3 separate regions of the Homo sapiens genome follow, and regions 1 and 2 are each linked to region 3. The links are contacts of gene promoters, found by promoter capture Hi-C in human tissues and cell types (Jung and others, 2019). All regions are on one chromosome and are shown on one strand. Each heading gives the region's core, a stretch centred on a gene start or on the middle of the fragment in contact. The rest is flanking DNA. Distances are from core to core; before and after follow the strand shown. Region 1 overlaps LOC105373960 (a long non-coding RNA gene). Region 2 overlaps RAMP1 (receptor activity modifying protein 1). Region 3 holds the start of KLHL30 (kelch like family member 30).

What was found. The method cuts DNA at HindIII sites, captures the fragments that hold promoters and counts their contacts. A contact is called where the count stands out against the background at its distance.
Region 1: a contact is called between a fragment that was not itself captured here and the fragment with the promoter of KLHL30 in region 3, in 2 of the 25 tissues and cell types used here (aorta and heart left ventricle).
Region 2: a contact is called between a fragment that was not itself captured here and the fragment with the promoter of KLHL30 in region 3, in 2 of the 25 tissues and cell types used here (H1 embryonic stem cells and bladder).

What each region holds. Positions count from the first base shown.
Region 1 is chr2:237,929,063-237,933,312 of GRCh38, reverse strand. The region is part of intron 1 of LOC105373960 (a long non-coding RNA gene); the gene reads left to right. Among named protein-coding and RNA genes, the nearest start is that of UBE2F-SCLY, 36 kb to the left of the region's middle. RefSeq lists an enhancer at 1. The HindIII fragment of the contact is 4,595 bases long and covers 1-4,060 here.
Region 2 is chr2:237,883,617-237,887,868 of GRCh38, reverse strand. All of the region lies in intron 2 of RAMP1 (receptor activity modifying protein 1), which reads right to left. Among named protein-coding and RNA genes, the nearest start is that of RAMP1, 26 kb to the right of the region's middle. The HindIII fragment of the contact is 5,036 bases long and covers 112-4,252 here.
Region 3 is chr2:238,135,834-238,140,434 of GRCh38, reverse strand. It overlaps KLHL30 (kelch like family member 30), which reads right to left and starts at 1,767. Exons shown (of 8, transcript NM_198582.4): 1 at 1,677-1,767. The HindIII fragment of the contact is 32,785 bases long and covers 1-4,601 here.

The sequences.
Region 1 (4,250 bases), core at 514-3,013, 210 kb after region 3:
TGAGACGGAGTCTCGCTCTGTCACCCAGGCTGGAGTACAGTGGCATGATCTCGGCTCACTGCAACCTCCGCCTCCCAGGTTCAAGCAATTTTCCTGCCTCTGCCTCCTGAGTAGCTGGGATTACAGATGCCTGCCACCATGTCCAGCTAATTTTTTGTATTTTTAGTAGAGATGGGGTTTCACTGTGTTGGCCAGGCTGGTCTGGAACTCCTGACCTCGTGATCTGCCCGCCTTGGCCTCCCAAAGTGCTGGGATTACAAGCATGAGCCACCACACCCAGCCTGGTATGTTGCATTTTCATTTTTATTCAGTTCAAAATATTTTCTAATTTTATTTTTGGTTGACTCATGAATTATTTAGAAGTGTGATATCCAGTTTCACATACTTGGGGATTTTCCAGAGATCTTTCTGTTTCTGGTTTATCATTTGATTCCACTGTGGTCAGAAAACATACTTAGTACAGCTTGCATTCTTCAAAAACATTTTTGAGACTTTATGACCTGCATTACAGGGGTGTCGAATCTTTTGGCTTCCCTGGGCCAATTTGGAAGAAGGAGAATTGTCTTGGGCCACACATAAAATACACTAACACTAACAATAGCTGATGAGCTAAAAAAAAATGCAATAAACATATTATTATTATTATTATTATTTTTGAGACAGAGTCTCACTCTGTCACCCAGGCTGGAGTGCAGTGGCATGATTTCAGTTCACTGCAACTCCACCTCCAGGGTTCAAGTGATACTTGTGTCTCAGCCTCCCAAGTAGCTGGGACTACAGGCATGCGCCACCATGCCCAGTTAATTTTTGTGTTTTTAGTAGAGACAGGGTTTCACCATGTTGGCCAGGCTGGTCTCGAACTCCTAACCTCAAGTGGTCCACCCACCGCAGCCTCCCAAAGTGTCTCATAATGTTTTAAGAAAGTTTATGAATTTGCGTTGGGCTACATTCAAAGCTATCTTGGGCCACAAGTGGCCCACAGGCTGCGGATTGGATAAGCTTGGCCTAGAATATGGTCTATCTCTGTAAATGGGTCCAGATACAAGCTCAGCAATTGCTGTTCTAAAATTCTGCACCTTCTATGTTTGTTTGTTTATTTATTTATTTATGTTTTTGAGATAGAGTCTCGCTCTGTTGCCCATGCTGGAGTGCAGTGGCACAATCTTGGCTCACTGCAACCTCTGCCTCCTGGGTTCAAGCGATTCTCCTGTCTCAGCCTCCCGAGTAGCTAGGACTACAGGTGCGTGCCACCACACCTGGCTAATTGTTGTATTTTTAGAAGAGACGGGGTTTCGCCATGTTGGCCAGGCTGGTCTCAAACTCCTGACCTCAGATGGTCTGCCCACCTCAGCCTCCCAAAGTGCTGGGAATACAGCATGAGCCACCGCACCCGGCCGGCACCTTCTACGTTTATTGTTAATTGAAAAACAGTCTTGAGCTGTGCCAAGGATGCCTGGGGATGAATAGAACTGTTTGGAGCATGTGCCTAACCTGTAACTGTGGCACTGCCACTGCAATGCATTGTGGGGGGTGGGCTGCCCCCACTTACATGACAACTGTGACAATCATTGCTCTGGAATAATCAGGATTCTCATTTGAGACTCCAGCTGGCTTTGATATTTCGTTTCTAGAGACTCACCCAGCAGTGTAAGAAAATAAACAAACTCTGAGAGGCTGTGAGTTTTGAATTGCAGAGGGTAAAACCAGAGCCAAAAGTTCCAGAGAAAATATTTCAAGCTTCGGGTGTGTTTGAGGAACTGAGAAGTCACAGAATAGCTGGAAAAGAGGATGTAGTGTAAAGTAAACTCAGCTGCACAGACATATGGTCTGTTGGTGGAACTGGAGTCCGACCAGATAATGATCATCAGCGAGGCAGTGCTCTGAAGAAGCCTCTCATCCACAGGTGGGGGTCCGGGCTGCTGCAAACAGTTGCGCAGGTGTGCGCTGCACAACTCAGGGCCACCGTTAACATCACACATAATGGCACATGGCAAAAGGTCCCATTAGGTACAGCCCTGTGGCTTTACCATGTTAAATGCCTTTCGTCTTTCTGGGCCAGTCACTGTGAATCTGAGTGCCTGTGAGGGCACAAACCCTGCACAGTTCCTCTGCTCCTGGCAGTGTAGCATCCCATAACTCCTCCCCAGGGCCCTGCCAGTGCCAGCTCAAAAATCTCCCTGTGGGAGGGTATGGCAGAAAGACCCTAGGGTTCATGCCCTATATAATCCCTTCCTCTTGAGTGTGAGTGGGACCTGTGACTTGCTTATAACCAGTAGAATATAGCACAGGTGACAGGATGTCACTCCCATGACTGAGTTACTATAGATACCTAGACAAGCCTCCATCTTACCAGCACACATTGGAGATTCTCCTTCCTGGCTTGATGAAATAAGGACCGTGTTATGTTATAAGTTCACCTAACAAAAAACCACTAACAAGGACCTGAGGGGGACCTTCAGTCAGAGGCCAGCAAAAGCCAGGGCCCCTTGGTCACATGCCCCACCCATTCAGTCCACTGGGCTGCACTGAGCTTGTGCACCAGCTCAGCCCGTAGCTGGGCCATGTGTGCCCCAGCCTGCCTGTGTTATAGCTCCTACCCACATTTGGTGGTTCCTGAACTCTTGTCTCATGTCCAGGAAGAATGAGGTTACCCTGACCATCGAAGGATGAGGAGGGCAGATAATAACTGTATTGAGTGATGGAAAAGTTCTCAGTGGAGAGGGGATGCAAGGGTTGTCCTCCACTCTAAGTTGGGTGGTCTCTCCTTCAGTGTGGCTGGGTCTGGGATTTTATAGGCTCAGAATGGGGAGTGTGTGCTGATTGGTTTGTGAGTATGCAAAAAAGGTTAAAACAAAGGCACTGCTCAAAGGTGGGCATGACAGTGTAAAAAACCAATTAGGGTAGGGTAGGTTTCTGTAAAATAGGTGAAGGGTGGGGATCAATCAGAGGAAAGTGCACCAAACGGGAAGACGGGTTCTCAATCTGGTCCGTGGATTTGACTTGTAGCTTGGCTTTCAGGTTTTAAACTGTCTTTGTCTTGGAGGTAGGGTTTCACTGGGGTTCTGCCCCATCTGCCTAGGCATGTGTCTGCCTCCTGCATCTGCAAGAGGAGGATGTGACCCAGCGGACACCTGGTGACAGCCTCATGAGACCCTGCCATCTCAGAGGACATAGCTGGGCCACGCCGGGACTTCTCACCAGCCGGGAAATATGTTACCCAGCGATATAAATGAATGCAGGGGGTCTTGAGAACACAGTCCAGTTGGAAGCAGAAAATAGGTGACTCGTCTTCAGATGGTGAACATGCTATTTGTACTTCAATTGTGTGTTTAGCTGGGGTGGCTTGGGGGTGCTGGTGGAAATTACAGTAGGCAAAGTCCCTGTGGGCCACCCCAGGACCCAGCAACTAGCCCAGCAGCCTGGAGGAGTGGGAGGCATGGCTGGGCCCTGGCCTGGGGAAGGAAGGGGATATTTGCTTGGAACATTCTAGTACAATTAATTGGAATGAAAGTGTTGTCATTTTAAGTTTCTGACAGTTTGGTTAGGTTAGACTTTAAAAATCGTAACGTGGCCGGGCATGGTGGTTCATGCCTATAATCCCAACACTTTTGGGAGGCCAAGGTGGGTGGGTCACTTGAGGCCAAGAGCTTGAGACCAGCCTGGCCAACATGGCAAAACCCTGTCTTTACTAAAAAATACAAAAATTAAAGGCGGGGCGTGGTGGCTCACGCCTGTAATCCCAGCACTTTGGGAGGCCGAGGAGGGCAGATCACGAGGTCAGGAGATCGTGACCATCCTGGCTAACACGGTGAAACCTCGTCTCTACTAAAAAATGGAAAAAAATTAGCTGGGCGTGGTGACAGGCACCTGTAGTCCCAGCTACTTGGGAGGCTGAGGCAGGAGAATGGCATGAACCTGGGAGGCGGAGCTTGCAATGAGCCAAGATAATGCCACTGCACTCCAGCCTGGGCGACAGAGTGAGACTCCGTCTCAAAAAAAAAAAAAAAAAAAAAAAACACACAAAAACAAAAATTAGATGGGCATGGTGGTATGCACCTGTAATTCCAGCTACTCAGAAGGCTGAGGCACAAGAATCACCTGAACCCAGGAGGCAGAGGTTGCAGTGAGCTGAGATTGTGCCAGTGCACTCCAGCCTGGGCAACAGAGGGAGACCCCATCTCAGCAAAAACAACAAAAAAAGAGGATACACAAATTTCCTTCCTAACCAGTACCCCAGTAACTTTCCTCTG
Region 2 (4,252 bases), core at 1,380-3,879, 250 kb after region 3:
ACCTCAACCTCCTGGGCCGAGGCGATCCTCCCACTTCAGCCTCCCTAGGACTACAGGTGCGCCCATTACACTCAGCTAATGTTTACATTTTTTGTAGATACCTGGTTTCGCCATGTTGCCCAGGCTGGTCTCGAACTCCTGGGCTCAAGTGATCCACATGCCTTGGTCTCCCAAAGTGCTGGGATTGCAGGTGTGAGCCACTGTGCCCAGCTCCATCATTTATAATAGCAAAAACCAGGAAATGGCTTTAACTCGAGCAGGAGTAGGGAACCACAGCGTGCCAGTGTGGCCTGCCCTAGAGTGAGGCGGCCTCCACTGCCTGGGCAGTGAGGGTAAACTCAGTCTCTTTTTCAGAAAGTGCATTCTCCATTTTTTGATTGAGACAAGAAGCTGAAACAAGAGTGGACTCAGACCCAAGGCCTGTCCCAAGACGCATCCCAAAGGGCACCCTGTGCTTAGGTCCCGCAAGATACTCGGTGTCCTCGAACTATGCACAGGGAAGGCTGTGAGGTGCCACTGCTCCCTGGAGGCCCTCCCACAGGGGACTGAGAATGCTGCTGGCCCTGCCTGTGCCTGGGAGATGTCTACCATCTGAGTGATGAATGGATAGATCCTGGGAGATGCCATGGCCCAGCCTGGGGGCTGGAGTGAAGGTCAGCATTAGGAGGGGACATCTGCTCTGTCCTCTACCCACTGCCCTCCCCACACAGGACCCACAGCCAGAGGTGTCACACACAAGGGCACATCTTCATCCTCTCTCCCCCACCCCACCCCCACCCCTTCCCCATGGGCAGCCCAGGAGGCCGCCTTCGGGGCTCAGTGAAGCCCTGTGTGCACAAACTGGCCTGTGTCCCAGGACAGCCAAGTCCCGTCTGCACAGCCTGGATGGTTCTAGGGCTTTCTGGGGGTGTGGCTGCTGTAGTCGAGTGTCCACAGGGGAGGCGGGGGTGGATGCTGAGCTACGACGAGCCCCCGCCACCAGACGTGTTCCACCTGCCCACCCTTTCACTCACTGCCGGGATCTGGTTAGCGTCACCGCATGTCTGACCTTTCGCGTTGACGCACAGGCCTGATTTCATCCCCATACTCAGGAGGATGTGAAACCAGGCAGTTAATCACCTGATGGGAAAGACGCCATGGTGGGCTCAGTGCCACGCTCCGCGCTAAGTCACCACAGGGTCTGGGGAAGGTCTCTCCATCTGTGCCTTCCCCCAGGGCCAGAAGACTTCCGAAAAAGATGTGCTGAGGATGACAAGGTGGTCCCTGGGTGTGGAGGGGTGAGGCCAGCAGTCGCCCGCTCCAGCCCCAGCCTCCAAGCTCCCCCAACACGAGGGCTCCTCTCTGTGGGTCCTCACAGATGCATTTCTCCTGGAGCTTTCTGAGAAGGGAAATGGGGCTCCTCCTCCCCATTCCAGAGCCCCCCAGCCCAGCAGGCAGGTGTCATCAGATCCTCTGGGGATCCTCATCAGAACCCACCATGGCGCGCACGTTAAGTGAGGCAACCCCTGACCTGAACACATTCCAGGGGCGGCTGCCAAGGACTCTGAGCCCTGGTTTATTTCTCCAGTGCTGAAAACCAGCAGAAGGCGCTCCCTGCACAACCACGGTCACGCGCGCCAAGGAGACTACAGGAAGGTGGAACGACACCCCCGTGGGGCGGCCTGGGCAGGGCCGGCATATCCCCAGCCACTGCCCCACTCTGCCCAGCCCTGGACAGCTGTGTCTACAGCTCGTCCCCATGGGGACCCGGCACCCCGGCTGATGCCTGCGCAGGCCACAGGAGTGGCGTCCTCAGGGGAGCCAGACTGGTGTCACTGCGCGAGCTGCATGTCTTTCCTGGCACAGCCACCTCCTTCTCTCCTCCTCTGCCCCCTTCTCCTCTGTAAGCCATAGCCTGGAGTCTTCGAGGACCCGGCTCCCAGGGGCTCTTCCTGCTCCTCTGCCTCCCGCGGGGCTGGCCATTAGTGCTGAAGGCCCCAGGAGGTCAGGGGTCAGCAGCCGGGTTTCCGTGCCCCTGGGGTGTGCTCTGGAGATGCCTGGAAAGATTCTCCCACCCAGGGGGGGCAGAGGGTGGGGGAACAGACATCTAGCCAGGGCTTTCCTCACAAGAACTGGCTTCACGCCTGGTGCAGACACACAGAGAGGGGCACGGCAGGAGCGATGGTGTGGCGGTGGGCAGGGAGGTCAGTAGGCAGGGAGGGCGGCCTCGGCCTGGGCAATGCTCGCCTTTGGATCCTCTGAGACCTGGCTGTGCTGGGCACTGCCATCTGTCCTGTCCACGCCTGAGGGCCTTTCCGTGGAGCCCACGCTATTCCACCAGCACACACAGGGATGACAGCACCACAGCCACCAGGGAGAGCACAGAGGGGTCCCAGTGCTCGTGGGCATGTGGCAAGTTCCAGGGCGGACACCGCCATGAACAAACCCACGAGGGCACCGAGGCAGCCCCAGATGCTGTACTGGGAGCTCCTGATGCTCACGACAGGCCTCAGGGAGGTGGGTGGGCTCCAGGGCCAGGCCTCCGGGCAGGGGCAGGCGGCGGGCAGGGCTCTGTGAACAGCCCATCCCGAGACCTCGTGGGGGTCGAGCTCAGCAGAAATCCAGGAGGACACCCTGCCCTTGGCCCAGACAGCCCTCGTGATTTCAGAAGAAGCCTCCCTCTCAGTTCCTGCTGAAATTCAAAATACAAGCAGCTGTTCCCATGTTGCTGCTGAGTTCTGAAGAATTTCCTGACTTGACTCTTTTAGCAGGAGACACAAAGAAGGCAGCAGGAGGGAAATGCAGCAGGCTGGGAAGGACCCCAAAGTGTTGGTGCACCCTGCCCAACGTCGTGTGGACCCAGAGCGTCATGCCTGGCGCTGGCCATGCTGAGCCGCCGTACCACAGCAGGCACTGCAGACATTTGTCTTGCGTCCCCCAACTACCACGCTGGGCTGCAGCCCCACTCCCTGGGGCCTGGAGCCCCGTCCTCTGAGCAGCTCCTTGGGCTGGGGGAGGGCCCATGATTGCCCAGCATGGGGTCGGCAGGGCAGGGCAGGGTCCGCAGTGACAGCCTCGGGTAACCAAAGCTGAGGTGACCTGAGGCTACCATGGTCAGTATTTACAAACCTGGAAGCTTTAGGGCAGAGGGACGGAGGCATCCCAGCTGGTATGGAAGTGAAGTCTGGTTCTCTGGGGCCCAGTGACCTCAGATGCTGGGAAGGCTGTGGCCCCATCCTCTGGCATCTTCCCCGAGGACACCTTTCCCCTGCCCAAGATGGCACTCAGACCCTGAAGCCATACAGGGTGGGGTGGAATAGGCGTGTCCCCTTCCCTCTTAAATCAACCGAGCATTTCTTATTTAGGTGAGGAAATCTGACGTGAGGCTTTTAAAAACCCATGTTTTATAGCCGAGTCCAGCACGTTCCAGATTCTTCTCTTCTCTGTTCTGCCTTCTCTCTCCCTCCCCTACACCCATAGGAAGGTCTCTGGAAATGAGAGTTCCCGATGACACATTTGCCAGGTTTTCTATACCTCCTCAAATTAGATTGTAGCTCCAGTTAATACATTAAATCACATTATGCCTCCATCAGCAAACCAAGGCTGCAGCTTAATGAGATGATAACCCCTGGTAAATGACGGCCCAGCCAGCTTGCAGGGGAGCCTGGCCCCGCTGAGCTCATTCAGCCACTTTTCAGGGACCTGTTCCATGTAGCTGAGTGGAAGACACCCAACACGTGTTAGAAAGGGCTCAGGAATCACCCCCAAGCCTTGCTCACAACAGACAACCTGACAAAATCCACCAACCAGGTAACAAAGCAACAGGATGAGCGGAGGAGTGGGGTCACGGTCAGGGCAAGGGCTGTCGGAACCCAGCAAGCACCTGCGTGCAGATCCATGCCGGGCAGCCAAGGTCCCAGGGCAAGCGCAGTGGCTACAAACCCTGAATGCGCAAAAAAAAAAAAAAAAAAAAAAAAGTGGACCTACAGGCCAGGGCAGGGACCCAGGAATGACCCCTGTGCAGAGGAGGAGCCTCTTTTTTTTTTTTCTTTTCTTTTCTTTTTTTTTTTTTTGAGGTAGGGTCTGGTTCTATCACCCAGGCTGGAGTGCAAGTGGTACCATCATGGCTCACTGCAGCCTTGACCTCTCAGGCTTGAGTGATCCTCCCGCCTCAGCCTCCCAAGCACCTGGGTCTACAGGTGTCCAACACCATGTACAGCTAATTTTTAAAATTTTTGTAGAGATGGAGTCTCACTTTGTTGTCCAGGCTGTT
Region 3 (4,601 bases), core at 518-3,017:
CATTCAGGGCAGAACAGGGTTGGCAAAAGAACCCATGCCCTGGGTGTCATCTGCAACCCTGGGCTACACTGAGCCCACCCCCCAGGGACCCCGGAGACACCCAAACTCCCGGGAGGCGTCCTCCGTCCCAGATCCCACATTGCTGGGGAGGCCATTTGGGGGCTGCAGCAGCTCCTGCTCCCGCGGTGCTCCCAGGTGCCAGGCCACGTGCCAAGCATGCAGAGAAGCTGTGCATTCACCACTCAGCCCCACAACAGTCCTGGAGGGTGGGTGCAATCATTGCCTCTTTTACAGCTGGGGAGACTGAGGCACAGAAGGTTTCAGTCACTTGCCCAAGATCACACATTTAGGAAGTGGTGGAGCTGGAATTTGAACTCAGAGCTAGGCTTGGGGGCCCAGGCTCTGAACCCTGCATTCCACGTGGCCGGGTGGAGGCTGCTAAACAGAAACGGCCAGCCAAAGGCAGCGTTCTGGAGGGTTTCGCGTCACCACGCCCGCATGGTTGAAGTCAGCAAGGCCGCTTTCAGGCTCATGTAATTATGTGCATGTGGTTTATGTCCTTCTGGTATCGCACCCTAAGACAACCATCCCTAGGAGAGATCAAGTCTGTGCACAAGCCTTCGACCCGGGTCACCCCAGGGCGAAAGGCTGCGCAGCGGAGAGGCCGTTCGCCCGCTAGGGGGCGCCTCGCGGGGCCATCCCGGGCAGGAGAGGCGGCCGCGCGTCCACAGGTACAAAATGCGTGGGAACGCCACGCATGGAAATGACAAAGCTCAGCTGGAGAACCAGGAGGCCAAGAATCTGGCCCGGGCAGCCACGGTGCAGGTACAGGTGCAGGCGATGGGAGCTAGGGCTCCCCGACTTCCCGACCCCGGTGCCACCTCTTGACCCCAGAGCGGGGAAGCACCTGGGAGCCCACAGGGCCTCGCGGACCAACCCGGGCTCGCGCACAGGGCAGCTCACGTGGCCGGGGCCCCACACCCCAGCATCCCGGCCGGTACACGAAGTACCCACCCAACACTGCATGCATGGGGTTCCTGCCTGGCCCCTCCCCAGGAGGCGCTGGCCCCGGTGAAGGCGGCTCTGCCCTCCCTGGGCAGCCGGGAGATGAGCTGGGGCCTGAGTAGGTGACAGGGCTGTCCCTGGGCCACCGCCTGCAGGCCTCACATTCCCGTCATTGTTGTGCTCCCTTGGGCCAGCTGCTGCCGGGCGATGGGCAGGCACGCATGAGCGCCCCCACTTCCCCTGGGGGCCTCGGGGTGCCTGCTGACACCTGTCACCCTGCAGTCCCTGCATGGGTCGGGGCTTCCTGAGGGTCTCAGAGCCTCACCCCAGTGCCTGCCCAGGCCCGGAGTGAGGAAGCCGAGTGGGCAGGACAACAAAAGGCCTGAGCCCAGCCAGGCTGGCGACTGTGGCTGAGTGGCCCTGGCTGCCATCTGAGGGGTGGCCCAGCCTCCCCCTCCCACCTCTCCGGCTGGGACATGGAGGGAAACCTGTCTCCTGAGCCCCCACCCTGAGGAGCCTGGCTTGGCCGCTGGCAAGGGCCAGGGGGCGTCTCCAAAGCACCCTGCTGTGATCCCTGGCCTCGGGGGCCTAACCCACCCTCCCCGCTGCTCCTGGCTGGGTTCCCCCTGCCCTCTCTGCTGTCCCCTGCCCCAGAGCCCCCTGGATCCTACCTCTCACTCAGCCTGGACCTCGAAGCTGAGAACACAGACCCGAGAGAGCAGGACTGCCTAGCCGGCAGCCAGGGGACACGGAGGCCTGCAGGGCGGGGCAGGGCTGGTCTGGTGGCCACGTGGGGAGGGTATTTTTAGCCTCTGTCTGCAGGGCGAGGGGAGGGTCAGGCAGTGAGGGCTGGGCTGGTGGGGGAAGGAGTGAGATGCCGGCTCCTTGGTGACTGTTAGCTCAGAAAGCCCACTGAGGCCTTCCAGGGACTTGTGGCCTAGGACAGACATCAGGAAGGGCTCCAGGGCAAGGACAGGTGAAAGCTGTCGCGGTTGGGCTGGCTGGTGGGGGCAGGGATGCAGCTTCCCCACCTGTTTCCTCGTCTACAAGTTGAGTACAGTGGAGCCCGTGGTGGGGGCCTGGGGTCACAGAGACCCTCAGCCCAGGGCCAGGACACCGACAGGTGCTGCCCTCGCTGTTGATGTCAGCGGCACCTATGTGTCCTCTTGTTCTGTTGTCACGTGGGAAAACGTGATTATCATGAATAAGCACAGGTTGGTCAGCAGAGGCTTTCCGAGCTTGGGGTCCATGGTGGCGGTAGGGAAACTTTGCCCAGAGAGGGGAGGTGCCACACTCAGTTGCCCCGCCCAGCTAGCGTGGATAGGGGAGATCTTGGGGCTCCTTGCCCTGCTACCCCATGGCCTTGGCCTCGGGGCTGCCCAGGACGGCTAAGAAACAGGGTCACCTAAAAATACAGCAGTGGACTATCAGCCTCCCGTCCAGCACTTGGTTCACGGTAGTCGCAGGGGGAAGCTCTCACGCCTGGGACTGAAATGGGCTCAGAACCACAGGCCCTGACCAAGGTCAGGTGGGTTGAGTTGGGGACCCAAGAGGCCACTGGACATTTCTCACACCAGTGACCAGAGCAGAGCTTTGTGGCTGAGGGACTTCAGGTGCATGGGAGAGAAGCCCTCAGCCCTCAGCCCTCTACCCATCGGCCATGTGGGCCTGAGCAGTATGACCATTTCCAGGTGTGCTGCGACCTGGAGGAACTGGGGAGTATTGGGTCTGGCTGTGGCCTCTTGATGCTACTAGGGATTGTCCTAATGCTCTTACAGACCAGAGAGGTCCAGGCGGCCCCCAGGGAGACAGAACCCCACTCCTGGTCCTGAGATGCACACAGCCTATGGAGGGGAAGCTCACCTACAAATTACTGCCAAGTCTGCAAGGTGCCCTTAGGGTTACCTTCCATAGAGATTCCCTGAGTCCATGCTTCCTCTACAGCCCAGCCTGGCCCAGCCATAGCCCAGCCATAGCTCAGCCCAGCTCAGCTATTGCCCAACCATAGCCCAGCCATAGCCCAGCCCAGCTCAGCTATTGCCCAACCATAGCCCAGCCATAGCCCAGTCCAGCTCAGCTATTGCCCAACCATAGCCCAGCCATAGCCCAGTCCAGCTCAGCTATTGCCCAGCCATAGCCCAGCCATAGCCCAGCCCAGCTCAGCCATAGTCCAGCCGTAGCCCAGCCGTAGCCCAGCCCAGCCTGGCCCCTGCTCCTGCTCTTTCCCCTGCTCGTGTCCCACACTGTCCCAGGGTTTTTCCCCAGCCTTGGGCATCAGCCTCATGTTGTGTGGGGGACCCTCATGGAGGACCCCAACTCTCGCTGTGTCCAGGACCACTATGGGGTGGGCGCTAGAGTGTTGGGTTTCCGTACTGTCCCCCTTGTTTGCAGTCCTGGCTCGGGCTGGAGGAAATGAGGACAGGGGATTCTGATGACAGGCTGCTGTCACGGGGAGCTGGCTCTGCTCGGGGAACAGCACTGCTTGCCAAGTGTGGAGGCCTCACAGCAGCCGTCGTGGGGCTCGGAGCCCCAGCACCTCAGATGACAGGTCAGTCTGGGAAACTCAACACCGGGGGCGCAAAACAGATCCTCCATCAAGAGATTGCTACTGAGTGGCGCAGTTTTTAAAAATACACCACTTGTTTCTTTTTATGAGGATAAAAATAACACAAGTTCCTTTTGGAAAACAGAAAAATAAAAAGCAGAAAGTGTCATTAGTAAAAGATCATTTGCCATTAGTATGCTTCCAGCTCTTTCCTGTTGTCAAAATGAGCCTGCCTGCGTGTGTGGGTCAGCGCCCTTTCCTCACACCTTGTTATATTGTGGGCGTTTCTGATGGGATCAGCACTTGAAGATTTTGAATTTCTGCCGGGCATGGTGGCTCATGCCTGTAATCCCAGCACTTTGGGAGGCTGAGGCGGGTGGATCACCTGAGGTCAGGAGTTTGAGATCAGCCTGGCCGACATAGTGAAACCCCATCTCTACTAAAAACACAACAATTAGCCAGGAGTAGTGGCGGTGCACACCTATAGTCCCAGCCCGCAGACCCTCCCGCCCCAGGCCAGGCTTCCGATGACTGCAGTTGGGCTGAGCACTTCATGGGACCCTCCTGAGACATCCTGAGGTGCAGCCACCCCACACACGTGCTCCCGAGGAGAAACTGAGAGACGATGCGTGTGACCATGCGTGTGTGCTGTTCAAGGACATTGGATTTCAGGCAGTTGACTATGCAGCACTAGGTCACTAGTACAGCAGACAAAAACATGTAAACAGCAGAGCAATGGGGGGCTTCCATCTCAGATACGAAGATGTCATCATTACAGCGTAAAATGCCATCAAACAAGGTGGTTTTGACCCAAGAATAAACAAATCCCAACAGCCAATGCACAGAAAGCGGTGCCACGGCAAGTCCGCAGGGAAGGAGGGGCCGTCTGACGTGTGAGAGTGCTGGTGAAAGGGAAACAAGGTCAGCCCGATGGAACCCAGGCCCCAAATCACCCCAGATGGAGTGAGAGGTGCTGTGCAGGGCTGTAAGGCCCCCGAGAAGGGGGCAGACTGATATGCGGACCCAGCCTGGGACATCCTCACAGCTGGAA